2 separate regions of the Homo sapiens genome follow, and region 1 is linked to region 2. The links are contacts of gene promoters, found by promoter capture Hi-C in blood cells and fetal thymus (Javierre and others, 2016). All regions are on one chromosome and are shown on one strand. Each heading gives the region's core, a stretch centred on a gene start or on the middle of the fragment in contact. The rest is flanking DNA. Distances are from core to core; before and after follow the strand shown.

What was found. Contacts are between HindIII fragments. The CHiCAGO score rates a contact against its expected background, and 5 or more counts as called.
Region 1: a fragment that was not itself captured here is called in contact with the fragment with the promoter of TMBIM4 in region 2 in 1 of 17 cell types (total B cells); the score reaches 5.6 in total B cells.

Annotation. Positions count from the first base shown.
Region 1 is chr12:42,466,582-42,472,863 of GRCh38, reverse strand. PRICKLE1 (prickle planar cell polarity protein 1) reads left to right here. Exons shown (of 8, transcript NM_153026.3): 2 at 300-479; 3 at 2,505-2,618; 4 at 3,277-3,414; 5 at 4,035-4,238. The coding sequence starts at 348. Among named protein-coding and RNA genes, the nearest start is that of PRICKLE1, 120 kb to the left of the region's middle. RefSeq lists enhancers at 3,201-3,250, 3,261-3,360. The HindIII fragment of the contact is 902 bases long and covers 3,378-4,279 here.
Region 2 is chr12:66,167,862-66,174,598 of GRCh38, reverse strand. It overlaps TMBIM4 (transmembrane BAX inhibitor motif containing 4), which reads left to right and starts at 4,603. Exons shown (of 7, transcript NM_016056.4): 1 at 4,603-4,744. The coding sequence starts at 4,648. RefSeq lists a silencer at 1,423-1,623 and enhancers at 4,622-4,701, 4,345-4,869, 5,352-5,451. The HindIII fragment of the contact is 2,376 bases long and covers 2,928-5,303 here.

The DNA.
Region 1 (6,282 bases), core at 2,579-5,078, about 24 Mb after region 2:
TGAGAACTTTTCTAAGGAATCGACTGTAGAGAGGCACCTTTTAAAGGCTCCTGGAAATAAACTAGCTTTGGTGGCATGTTCTGAAATTCTGAGCTGGCAAAGAGACTACTACCAAATTATATAGCTCTAAATTTTAAATTTCAGGGGGCCTGGGGCCTGGGGGTGGTGACAGTAGTAATTTGGTTACTTTCTCTGGGCCCAGCTGTCTGTTAACAGCATTCAATAAAAGCTCTGGGTCGGGGGTAAGAGAAATGCATTCAGGTTTTAGATGTCTTTGTTTTTTCTTATATTGTTCACAGCAGCCATTGTTTGATGTCCTGTGACTGAGAAACCAGGCTTTAAACTTTATGCCTTTGGAGATGGAGCCCAAGATGAGCAAACTGGCCTTTGGCTGTCAGAGAAGTTCCACATCAGATGATGACTCTGGCTGTGCATTGGAGGAGTACGCCTGGGTCCCCCCGGGCCTGAGACCAGAGCAGGTAGGAACTTCATCATCCTATATTTACTCTTTGTTTTTCAGTGTGAGTTCAGACTTTAGAACATTATTTTGTAAATGGATAGAACATCACTGAGATGCTGGAATACCACCCTCCTCAGTCCTTATTCTTCTTTGTATGGCTTTGAAGTTTTACTTTTGAAGGTCATATTTAGTTTCTCAATGGAAGTTTCCAATCTCGTCGTACCCATGGTTCCAGAAGCCTCATAAGGATCCCATTTTTGCTCTAATGAATGAAATCCAGAGTACTACATATGCATTGGTTATGTGTATTTCGGATGAATCCCTCTTGAGAGTGAGAGGAATTTCCCTTTTAAAAAACTTCTGTGACAACAAAAAGGCAATAAAAGAAAAGAGAAAAGTTTCCATGCCAGTTCTCAGCAATGCTTTTGCTTTGGAAGCGAGATAGTGAGCTATCAGAAACCCTCTGAAGTGTTACTGCTTAGACGTTTGACCTTTGATAACTTTGCATATAAAAGAGCCTGTCACTTACACCACAGGGATTGGAAAAAAAATTAAAGAGTTAATTTTATGCTTTGTTTGTATTGTTATTTTAGGGAAGATGAGAACATTCCATATGCCTATTTAATTTTCCCAATATCTTTACAATGATTAACTTGTTGAAAATCACTGGCGATATTATTAAAAGAGCAGAGGCATCATTTGAAAATAAAGTTGACAGTGGGGTATGTGGTTGCTTTGCTTCTGATGTTAGGGTTCTGTTTCCTGTAGGGTGGGACGTTTTATGAGAATAGGGTATCCTTATTTATCCATGGCATAGCACAGTACCTGGCACGCATGTAGCTGATATTCAGTAAGTGTTTATAACTGTAAAAAGCTTCTAGAGCTGATAGAATGGGGAGAGGGTGGAGTGCTGGTGAAGCAGTTAGAAAAGCAATATTTTGACAAACTACTTAGAGAGAATCCCTTCTTACAACTTAGAGTGGGTAGGTTTTGTGTGGTACTAAGGTATTGAAGTAGACAGGCCCTAAATTCCTGTCTCCTGTCTTTTTTTTCTTTTATTCCTTCTCAGCTCTGCAGTATCCTTTGCAGTACTCATTAAGGGATGTTCCTTTAAAGACATCAGAAAAACAAACAAGCAGAAATTAAGTTTTCCTTTCAGAGTGAGCAAAGTACAGCTCAATGTGGCTTCTCTCCAGTTTGCCTGGGGAGGCTGACTTCAGGTATTCAGAAAATAGCACTCATGGAAGCAAAGAAAGCTGATGTTTGAGAGAACCTGATAAAGAAGAGTTTACAACATTTAGCAAAACAGCCTTTGTCTTTGTGTTGTGTAAAATTCAGAGAGCAAATTAAATGTGTTCGTGTAGTGGCTGGATTTTGGACCATTTCACACAGTCTGTGTAGTAATTTGCAGGATTCACCCAGGACTCTCTCTCTTGCTGATCTCTTGTCTGACCCCTTGGAAGACTGGCTGAGGAGGAGTAGTCTTTTTTTTTTTTTTGAGACGGATTCTTGCTCTGTCACTCAGGCTGGAGTGCAGTGGCGCGATCTTGGGTGACTGCAACCTCTGCCTCCCAGGTTCAAGCGATTCTCCTGCCTCAGCCTCCCGAGTAGCTAGGATTACAGGCGTGCATCACCACGCCCAGCTAATTTTTGTAGTTTTAGTAGAGACAGGGTTTCACCGTGTTGGTCAGGCTGGTCTCGAACTCCTGACCTCAGGTGATCCACCAGCCTCAGCCTCCCAGAGTGCTGGGATTACAGGCGTGAGCCACACCACCGGGAAGAGTGGTCTTAAATGTGCATATTTTATGGTGCATAATTTATGATGTCCCTAATTGTCACTACAAATTACATTCCTGAAGAGCAATTTAGCAGCTGGGTGCTAGTTATCTGAAGGTTTGCAGTTCTGCTGAGTTGGCTCAGCTGGTCTTCTCATTAGCTACAAGAGGCCAAACCCTGTACCTAGGGAAAGGTAACTTTTAAAGATTAAGTGAGCTGAGATGCTCAGTTCTGTATGTTGATGCCATTCTCACTGTCTCTTTTGCAGATCCAGCTCTATTTTGCTTGCTTACCAGAGGAAAAAGTTCCTTACGTTAACAGCCCCGGAGAGAAGCATCGGATTAAACAGCTTTTGTACCAGTTACCACCACATGATAATGAGGTAAAATAGCAGGAAGAAGGCTAATTAGAAAAAAGAAGAAAAAATGCATGAGAAGCATTGAGATGCTGCTCATAAACCCCAACTCCTCACTGGCGAGGGCTCCCTTTTGCCTTTCTTTAGTTAAAATTTGGCCAGAGAATACAGCTTTCCATTCTTTGAGAGAAAGAGAGAAAAGAGTATCAGTGTAATAAACTTAACACAAGTTGGTTTTTATAGTGTTTGCAGCCACCCACCAATGATCAGGAACCTACAAATTCCTGAGATTTCCCAGCCCCTGCATCCAGAGTGAATGCTTTATGGTCATTCAGGCCTGCAGTTGAGTTGAGTGCATGTAGAATGGAGAGTAAAAGTGGCAATTAACAAGTTTAAACCTTTTGTGGAAAGGTTAATGTCCTATATATATTTTTTAATTCTGTGTTGATAAGGGTTTTCAATTAAACATTTCTTATTTAAAAAAAAAGTATTCCTTCACATTGCATTTCCCTTTTTCTAGAGAGGCTGTAAAATTCAGATATGGTGTCATTTTAAAATCGTGGGGGTGTGACACAGGCGAGCTAAACTTACTGTTTCACTTCCTGAAACCCTAACTCTGGAAGTAGAGAACTGGTGAGAAAGACTGTGCACTCAGTGTGGTGTTTCTGTTTTGCTTTCTGTGAAGGTACGGTATTGCCAGTCTTTGAGTGAAGAGGAGAAAAAAGAGTTGCAGGTGTTCAGTGCTCAGCGGAAGAAAGAAGCACTGGGAAGAGGAACAATTAAGCTTCTGTCCAGAGCAGTCATGCATGCTGTGTGTGAGCAGGTGAGCAGCCCCTTCTCTGATGCGTAGCTTGTGGCAGTGATGTGGATGGGGTGGACAGTCGGGGGTAGGTGACTGGACTAGCAGAGGTGTGGGTCCTGAAAGCCTCCAGAAAATGAGAGAAAGACAGCCTAGCTTTTTATTAAATAGCAAATCATGTTTCATATTTGTAACTAGCTACACTGCTGTGTATGACAGCAGGAGTCAGTCACCCTTATGCAAACATTGGGTGAAATCCTGCCTTTGGTAGGATCCTGGCATGGAGGTAGGTGCTAGGATACATCTCGTATTCAAAAGATGCAGAAACATAATGAAGACATTCAGATCTTTGCTGGCAGTTCTCAGAGTAGGAAATGTATCCAGCAGGAGGCTGGCACAGGAAAACCACTATTTGTGTGAATCAGATTACACCGTCCTTAGAAATAGTTGTAGTATGTCTGAGACACGTGCCTTACAGTGGAGAATCACCAGTAATCCAGCATTAAAGAGCTATTTAATCACTAAAAGAGGTAGCAAAAATAAATACATTCCTGACAAATTCGAGATTTATCCTAAAGTAGGAAAGCCTGAGAATCCTGTCTTTAAAAAATGATCCTTTTACATTCAAACCCATTTGTTTGTAGTGTGGTTTGAAGATAAATGGAGGTGAAGTTGCAGTGTTCGCCTCCCGTGCGGGCCCTGGTGTGTGCTGGCACCCATCCTGTTTTGTCTGTTTCACGTGTAATGAGCTGCTGGTCGACCTCATCTATTTTTATCAGGATGGAAAAATTCACTGTGGCAGGCACCATGCAGAACTGCTCAAACCACGGTGCTCAGCATGTGACGAGGTAAAAAAAAGTTCATCCTTTCACACTGGGAAAAATAAGCTTAGATTAAGCCAATATTCCACTGTTTACATCAAGCAAAATACTAAAATTTCCTGGATTTTGTTCTGTGTGCATGTTTTAAACATAATCCTGTACATTCATACAATGAAATGATCTATATTTGGTTGCTGCAAAAGTAATTGCGGTTTTTTGCCATAATGGTCAAAACCGCAATTAATTTTTCACCTTCCTGATAGAAAGGGAAGCAGATGTCTTTGTACTTTGATAAGTATTATGTCTTCAGTGGGTTGTGAGAAAATACAAGCTGCAGAAGAGCATGTAGTAGATGGTCTCATTTTTGTTAAGAATTTAAAAAACAATATGATATATGTATTTGTTTATGCTCAGAAAAGGTATGGAAAGACAAATACCAAATTAATAGTAGTTACCCTCGGGGAAGGTGGGAATGGATGATGGCTTGAAAGGAAAAATTTTTTCCCTTTAGCTTTTTATTTTAAAATAATTTTAGATTTACAGAAGAGTTGCAAAGCTATTACAGAGAGATCCTGCATGCCCTTCTCCCAGCTTCCCCTGACACTAACGTCTTACATAACCATAATATATGTATCAAAACTAAGAAATTATCAGCAGTGTAATACCATTAACTAAACCATAGTCTTTGTTTAGATTTTCCCAGTGTTTTAACAGATGCTCCTTTTCTTATCCAAGATCAATCCAGGGTGCTTCATTGCATTTACTCGTTGTATCTTCTTAGTCTCCTTCAATCTATGACAATAAACTTTGTTTTTATTTTTATACATTCATTTACTTTATACATTTTTTTCAACAATGTTCTATTTGAACATATTTTTGTTTTTGTTTTGTTTTGATTTATTTTTTTGGGATGGAGTTGCTCTCTGTTGCCCAGGCTGGAGTGCCGTGGTGCAATCTTGGCTCACTGCAACCTCCGCCCCGCGTGTTCAAGTGATTCTTGCACCTCAGCCCCCCGAGTAGCTGGGATTGCAGGTGCCCACCACCACGCCCAGCTAATTTTTTTTTTTGTATTTTTAGTAGAGGCGGGCTTCACCATGTTGGCCAGGCTGGTCTCGAATTCCTGACCCCAAGAGATTCACCTCCCTCAGCCTCCCAAAATGCTGGGAATACCAGGGTGAGCCACCATGCTCCGCTGAACATATTTTGGAAACCAAAAATATAAAAAAAATGAAAGAACCTGCCGGGCTCGGTGGCTCACGCCTGTAATCCCAGCACTTTGGGAGGCCGAGATGGGCAGATCACGAGGTCAAGAGACAGAGACCATCCTGGCAAACATGGTGAAACCCCGTCTCTACTGAAAATACAAAAATTAGCTGGGCATGGTGGCATGCACCTTTAGTCCCAGCTACTCAGGAGGCTGAGGCAGGAGAATTGCTTGAACCCCAGGAGGCGGAGGTTGCAGTGAGCCGAGGTCACGCCATTGCACTCCAGCGTGGTGACAGAGCGAGACTCTGTCTCAAAAAAATAAAAAATAAAAATAAAAATAAAAAAAGAACCAGACTAGACCCCATGGTGAGACCCCGTCTCTGTCCCAAAATGTTTTTCAAATTAGCTGGGCATGGTGGTTGTGCCCTTGTGGTCCCAGCTACTCAGAAGGCAGAGGTGGGAGGATCGCTCAAGCCCAGGAGTTTGAGGCTGCAGTGAGCTATGATTGTGCCACTGTGCTCCAGCCTGGGCTACAAGTGAGACCCTGTCTCAAAAAAATAAAGAGTCCTTAATCTAGAGATGGCCACCAAGTCAAATAAAGCATTATCAACACAAATGCTGTTCACTCAATTCCAGCATCTGTGTAGCTATAACTGTGTTGAGTCCACAGACATTTTTATGAGTTTTCTTTCTACTAAAACACCAAATTATTTCACTAAATTATTTCCGTGTTAATGTGTTCTTTGCCAGATTATGCCAAGAAAATGTTATTGGGGAGCAAAAATATGACCAAATGAATTACCTCCGGTGTAGAATTCTGTTTTTTTAAAGTCAAAGCAAGCATTTATTATTTAGTTTGTTTTCT
Region 2 (6,737 bases), core at 3,354-5,853:
AAAAATACAAAAACCAGTCAGGCGTGGTGGCGCGCACCGGCAATCCCAGGCACTTGGCAGGCCGAGGCAGGAGAACCACGGGAGCCTGGGGCAGGGAGGCTGCAGCGAGCCGAGACCACAGCAGCACAGTCCAGCCTCGGCAACAGAGGGAGACCAAAGGTGAGGGCGAGGGAGGAGGGAGGCAATGATAGTTTTAAATACAAATTTAAAAGGGCGTTTAATGCATATGTGGAATCACCAAAATGACACGATTTGTATTTCATAGCTTGTACATATTTATTTCATTCTTATAAGAACTGTGGAAAATTCACACAAAATTAAATCAATTATTTTTATTTCACTTCTTCATACATGCAAACTATATCAACACTCTCTACCTTCAGCTTATTGCAAAGGATAACCTGAAAAGAAAAGGAACTATGATTGCCATATCTTTCCCTTTCCTTCCGTGTCTTTGAGTGTAAGTGGTTGACATTTACAGGGAAAGAACACAAGTAAAAAACTATGTGGGCTGGGCACGGCGGCTCACGCCTGTAATCCCAGCACTTTGGGAACAGAGGCGGGCAGATCACGAGGTCAGGAGATCAAGACCATCCTGGCCAATATGGTGAAACTCCGTCTCTACTAAAATACAAAAAAATTAGCCGGGCATGGTGGCGGGTGCCTGTAGTCCCAGCTATTCGTGAGGCTGAGGCAGGGGAATCGCTTGAACCCAGGAGGCGGAGGTTGCAGTGAGCCGAGATCGCGCCACTGCACTCCAGACGGGCAATAGAGCAACACTCTATCTCAAAAAAAAAAAAAAAAAAAAAAAAAAGGATGTGACAGCCTGTAATCCCAGAGCTTTGTGAGGCCAAGGCTGGAGGATTGCTTGAGGCCAGGAGCTCAAGACCAGCCTGGGAAACACAGCAAGACCCTGTCTCATAAAATTTAAGAAATTAGGTCCGGGCACGGTGACTCACGTCTGTAATCCCAGCACTTGGGAGGCTGAGGTGGACGGATAACCTGAGGCCAGGAGCTTGAGACCAGCCTGGCCAACATGGTGAAACCCAGTCTCTACAAAAAATACAAAAAAGTTAGCCGGGAGTGGTGGCGGATGCCTATAATCCCAGGTACTTGGGAGGCTGAGGCAGGAGAATTGCTTGAACCCGGGAGGCGGAGGTTGCAGTGAGCTGAGACCTGCGCCATTGCACTCTAGTTTGGACAAGAGGGAAACTCCATCTCGGAAAAAAAAAATTAGTTGGGCATGGTGGCATGCATTTGTAGTCTTAGCTACTAAGGATGCTAAGATGGGGTGAGCCCTTAAGCCCAGGAGTTTGCAGAGAGCTATGATTGCACCACTGCCCTCCAACCTGGGCAACAGAACAAGACCCTATTAAGAAAAAAAAAAGGATGTGAAAAGATTCCTTGGTCATTCATGTTTCTTAAAACGTCATTGCTTTCCTTCTGCATTCAAAGTAAGTTCTCCTCGGTAAGGAAAGCTAGGCCTCTTGGGGCTGTCTGTGCCTTCTCTTCTCTTCCCTTTACTAAGTCACAAGTGTGACATGCTTATCTTTTACTAGCTTTGAGTCTAGCTTAACTCCCAAACATTGCAGGTCTAACAGAATTCTGAGCTCATGGGGCATGCTAAATGCTTAAATGCAAATGATTGGCAGGAAACAGTGGACATCCACATTGTGCATACCTCTTCTATTCATGTTCATGTTCCATTGTACTTTCAGACTTCACTTACAAAACACATGTTCAAAGGCAAAATTACTAAGTATTTCAAAATGGTGACAGCTGAGCATTAAACCAAGTGCAGAGTCCTTCGGAGTCCAGGGCTCTGTGCAATAGCATAGGTTGCACACCTTTTAAGTCAGCTCTTATTTGAGTTCTAGATAATCCAGTTTTGCCAACACTTGATATTATCAATCTCTTAATTTTAATCATTTGGTGGGTGCTTAGAGATATCTAATTTTGGCATTTATTTACATTTCTCTGATCAACTTTTCATATATTAGCCACTTGGCTGTGTGTGTGTGTGTGTGTTAGGTTCCTGTTTCAGTCTTTTTTCCTTCTTTTTTTTTGTTTTTGAGGTGGAGTTTCGCTCTTGTTGCCCAAGCCAGAGTGCAATGGCGCGATCTTGGTTCACCACAACCTCCACCTCCCAGGCTCAAGCAATTCTCCTGCCTCAGCCTCCCGAGTAGCTGGGATTACAGGCATGTACCACCATGCCTGGCTAATTTTGTATTTTTAGTAGAGACGGGATTTCTCCACGTTGAGGCTGGTCTCGAACTCCTGACCTCAGGTGATCCACCCGCCTCAGCTTCCCAAAGTGCTGGGATTACAGGCATGAGCCACTGCGCCCGCCTCCAGTCTTTTGTCTATTTTTCTATTGACTGTCTTTTTTTGGTCTGGATTTGTAACAATTGTTTTTATATTCTGAAAAGGAGCCTTAGGTAGGTTATATGTATAGCAGATATCTTCCCCTACTCTATGGCTTCCTTTTCACTCTCTTATGGTATATTTTGATTACTAGAAATTCCTAATTTTAATATAATTTAATTTGGCAATCTTTTCATTTGAAGTTAAGTGCTATTTTGTATCTGGTTTCAGAAATCTTTGCCTTCCTCCAAATCATATTCTCCTGTATCATTTTCTTTAAGTTTTATTGTTTTTGCCTTTCACATTTATATCCACAATCTATCTGGAATTTATTTTTTTTTGTAACTGGTAAGAGGTAAAGGATCAAACTTTGCTGATGCTGTTTTTAGTCAATACAAAGGTGGGTTCCCAATTTAGCTCCAGTTTGTCCTCTATAATAAATTCCATTATTACGGCGGGGCAGAGAAAGAGGGGATGGCTTCGGGTTAGGATGGGAGAGAAAACGGATTACATTCCCAGTGTCATCTGAAGTAAAACTTTTCTCAGATTTTTCTCAGCAAGCTTTTTAAGTCCTCTCACCTGGAGAGTGACTAAAGAGATAGAGGCCATATCCCATTCACCTATCCATTCAACAAACTAAACTAAAACGAGGGGCCGGACACAGTGGCTAACGCCTGTGATCTCAGCACTTTGGGAGGTCGAGGTAGGGGGATCACTTGAGCCCAAGTTCGAGACCAGCATGGGCAACATGGCGAAATTCCGTCACTACAAAAAATACAAAAAATTACCCGGGGGTGGTCACCTGACCTCAGGAGGTCAAGGCTGCTGTGAGCCGAGATAGAGCCACCGCACTCCAGCCTGGGTGACAGACTGAGACTCTATCTCAAAACAAACCAACAAAAACAAATTAAAATGATATGCTTGTAAAATGTTTGTAAAATCATAAAAGATAAAGTGTTTTTTTGTTTTGTTTTGTTTTTCTTGTCATTGTGGAAGTGACGTTAGTTCTTTTGGCAAAGGCTTCTGAGAACATCAAGTTTAAGGATTTAGTTTAGAATAGACTGTTCCACAACTGTTCTGAATTCCACTTGCTAAGTGTTCGGGTGTTGTGGTTAAGGTGAGGACTGGGCAATGTGGGTAGATCAGAGTAAACTCATCAAAACAATTCCAAGGGACCCTAGGATGACACTACTCTGGGTATGTCTACACCTCTTTATATTGGAATGACAACAATATCATGAATATTCACTCTAATCCATTGTATTTGCCACCATCATCTCTCTCTTACAGTAATACAACTTTATCCCCTTTTCTCTGCCTTTGGTAATGGCCCTCTTCAATGTATTCTACTTCTGGCCTAGGATGATCTGGCCTTTGTTTATCTATCCAGCCTCATTCTTTGCCACCTGTCCCCTACACCAGCTGAGCTTCACCGTCTCCCTCTTTGCAGACGTTGGTCCCTTGAGGCCCAGCCTACATCACTGCTCTTTCTCTGGTTGGCTCCTACTTGCCTTTCAGGATTAAATATTACTTCATTCAGAAAGCCTGGTTTATAGAAAGTGCTCAATAAATGTAGGTATTATTATTATTTTAAAATAATAGAAGTAAAAATGCATCCTCGGTGTGATTATTGAAAAAGTGGATGAATGAGATGGGTATTTGTTGAGTGGATGGGTGACTGGGACATGGGTTCTATCACTTTAGCAACTCTCCAAGGTGAAAGGACTTAAAGTGTGTTCAGGCTGGGCGCGGTGGCTCACGCCTGTAATCTCAGCACTTTGGGAGGCCGAGGCGGGCGGATCACGAGGTCAGCAGATCGAGACCATCCTGGCTAACATGGTGAAACCTCGTCTCTGCTAAAAATATAAAAAAATTAGCCTGGCGTGGTGGCAGGCGCCTGTAATCTCAGCTATTCGGGAGGCTGAGGCAGGAGAACCGCTTGAACCCGGGAGGCGGAGGTTGCGGTGAGCCGAGATCGTGCCATTGCACTCCAGCCTGGGCAACAAGAGTGAAACTCCATCTCAAAAAAAAAAAAAAAAGTGTGTTGAGAAAAGTTTCACTTCAGATGACGCCGGGAATGTAAACCGTTTTCTCTTCCATTCTAACTCGGAGCCATCCCCGCTTTCTCCGCCCAGCTGGAATTTTTGAAGCGAGAAAATCGACTCGCTCGGTGTTCGCCCGCCGACGCCGCACGGCTTGCTGGGGCTGGGCTCTTCCTCGCGGAAGTGGGGAGGAGGCGGTTGCGGTTAGTGGACCGGGACCGGTAGGGGTGCTGTTGCCATCATGGCTGACCCCGACCCCCGGTACCCTCGCTCCTCGATCGAGGACGACTTCAACTATGGCAGCAGCGTGGCCTCCGCCACCGTGCACATCCGAATGGGTACGTTGTCCCCTCTCCAGTGCCTCCCAGCCGCTTGTCTGCACTGCTCGGCCTCTAGAAGCCGACTTCCGGCTTCCGAGGGAGAGCGGCCATCTCCTGGGACTCACAGGGAGTGCTCACTGAGCTCCCGGCCCTCCTTCTCCGGGTACCAGAGGACTGGCGCCCTCCTCAGGGAGTCGGGGAGGCGCTTCCTCCCCTCCTAGCGGGTGTGGGAGGGCGCCAGGCCCAGAAGGCTTGCGGCTGTCCTGTGTGCGCCCCGGCTCCCCAGCGGGCGCCGCGGTGTAGGAAGGGACAGATGGAAACCGCCGCAGCCTGAATTTGGCATCTTGAAGTGAAAAGAAACGTCGTGGAAATGAGTCGGTTGATCACTGTGACTGACGTACACACGAGTGGAATCCACGGCCTGATGTTTTTGTTCTGTGGGGTTTCGCGTTACAGGCTTATATTTACCGTCCTGTGCTAGGCTGGAAGCTCCCTGACGGCACTATTTCCTCTCCGCAGGGCCCAGAATGCAACAGGTCTTTGAGGATTATTGAGGAAGTTGCTCAACACAGAAGCTTCCTAAGTCAGTCTAAATTGTGTTTTAAGTTATTACGTAGTAGCCAATGGGCAGAAATTTTTGAATTTAAAATGCTCAGCTTCATCTACGTGGAAGCCATTGCCTGCTCTAGTTTGGTCATTTGATCGCCGAAACAGCCCCAGACTTTCAGCCTGTTTAGGCAGCTGGAACTTGTTCTGGAAAAGGAAAGATGAAGATAGTTCTGATGTGCTAAGAATCTTAGTGCCTAGAACTTGTTCTGGAAAAGGAAAGATGAAGATAGTTCTGATGCACCAAGAATCTTGGTGCCTAGCATTTATATTTTTGGAATTGAATTTTGAAATTATTTTGGCCAGTGAACTCAGCTTTTTTTTAAAAAAAATTAATTGTGGTAAAATACAGGTAACATAAAATTTACCGTCTTAACTATTTTTAAGTGTATAGTTCAGTAGTGTTAAGTTATTCACATGGTTGTGCACTGTTAAAAGAAAAACTTTAGACACATTAAATCTAACGGAGTTTGAGCACAGAATGATTTGCGAATTGGGCAGGTCCCGGAACCAGAATAAGGTTCAGAGTGATGAGTCCTGCCGCTTGGTGGGAGAAAATTTATGGAGAGAGAAAGTAAAGTGAGGTACAGAAAATAGAAGTGAGGTACAGAAAGAGTTGATTGGTTACAGCTTGGTTTTTGCCCGTTTGAACATGGTTTGAACACGTGGCCATCTTTGGCTGAAACTCAGTGATTGGTTCAAGCGTAGGTTACAGCCTGTTTACTAGGTTATAGTTCACTATATACCGAGAACCCCTAGGCTGAACTTAAAATATCTAAAGGCATAGCTTTAGACTAAACTTATATACCATCCAATATCCAGAACTTTTTAATCTTGCAAAACTGAAACTCTATACCTATTAACTCCCCATTCCTTCCTTCCCCCAGTCCCTGGAACCACCATTTCACTTTCTCTCTCTGTGAATTTGGCTACTCTAGATACAATCAGTATTTGTTTTTTTGTGGTTGGCTTTTTTCAATTAGCATAATGTCTTCAAATACATCCATGTTGTGGCATATGTCAGAATTTCCTTTTTTTTTTTTTTTGAGACAGGGTCTCGCTTTGCCACCGAGGCTGGAGTGCAGTGGTGAGATCACTGCTCACTGCAGCCTCTACCTTCTGGGCTCAGGTGATCCTCCCGCCTCAGCCTCTCGAGTAGTTGGGATTACAAATGCAGGTCACCAGGCCTGGCTAATTTTTTTGTACTTTTGGTAGAGACGGGTTTCTCCATGTTGCCCCATCCGATCTTGAACTCCTGGACTCAAGCGATCCTCCCACCTCAGCCTCCCAAAGTCCTGGGATTACAGGCATGAGCCACTGCACCTGGCTGCAGAATTTCCTTTTTAAGACAGTAGTAGTACTTTGTATGTATATACCAAATTTTGTTTATTCATCCATTGATGGA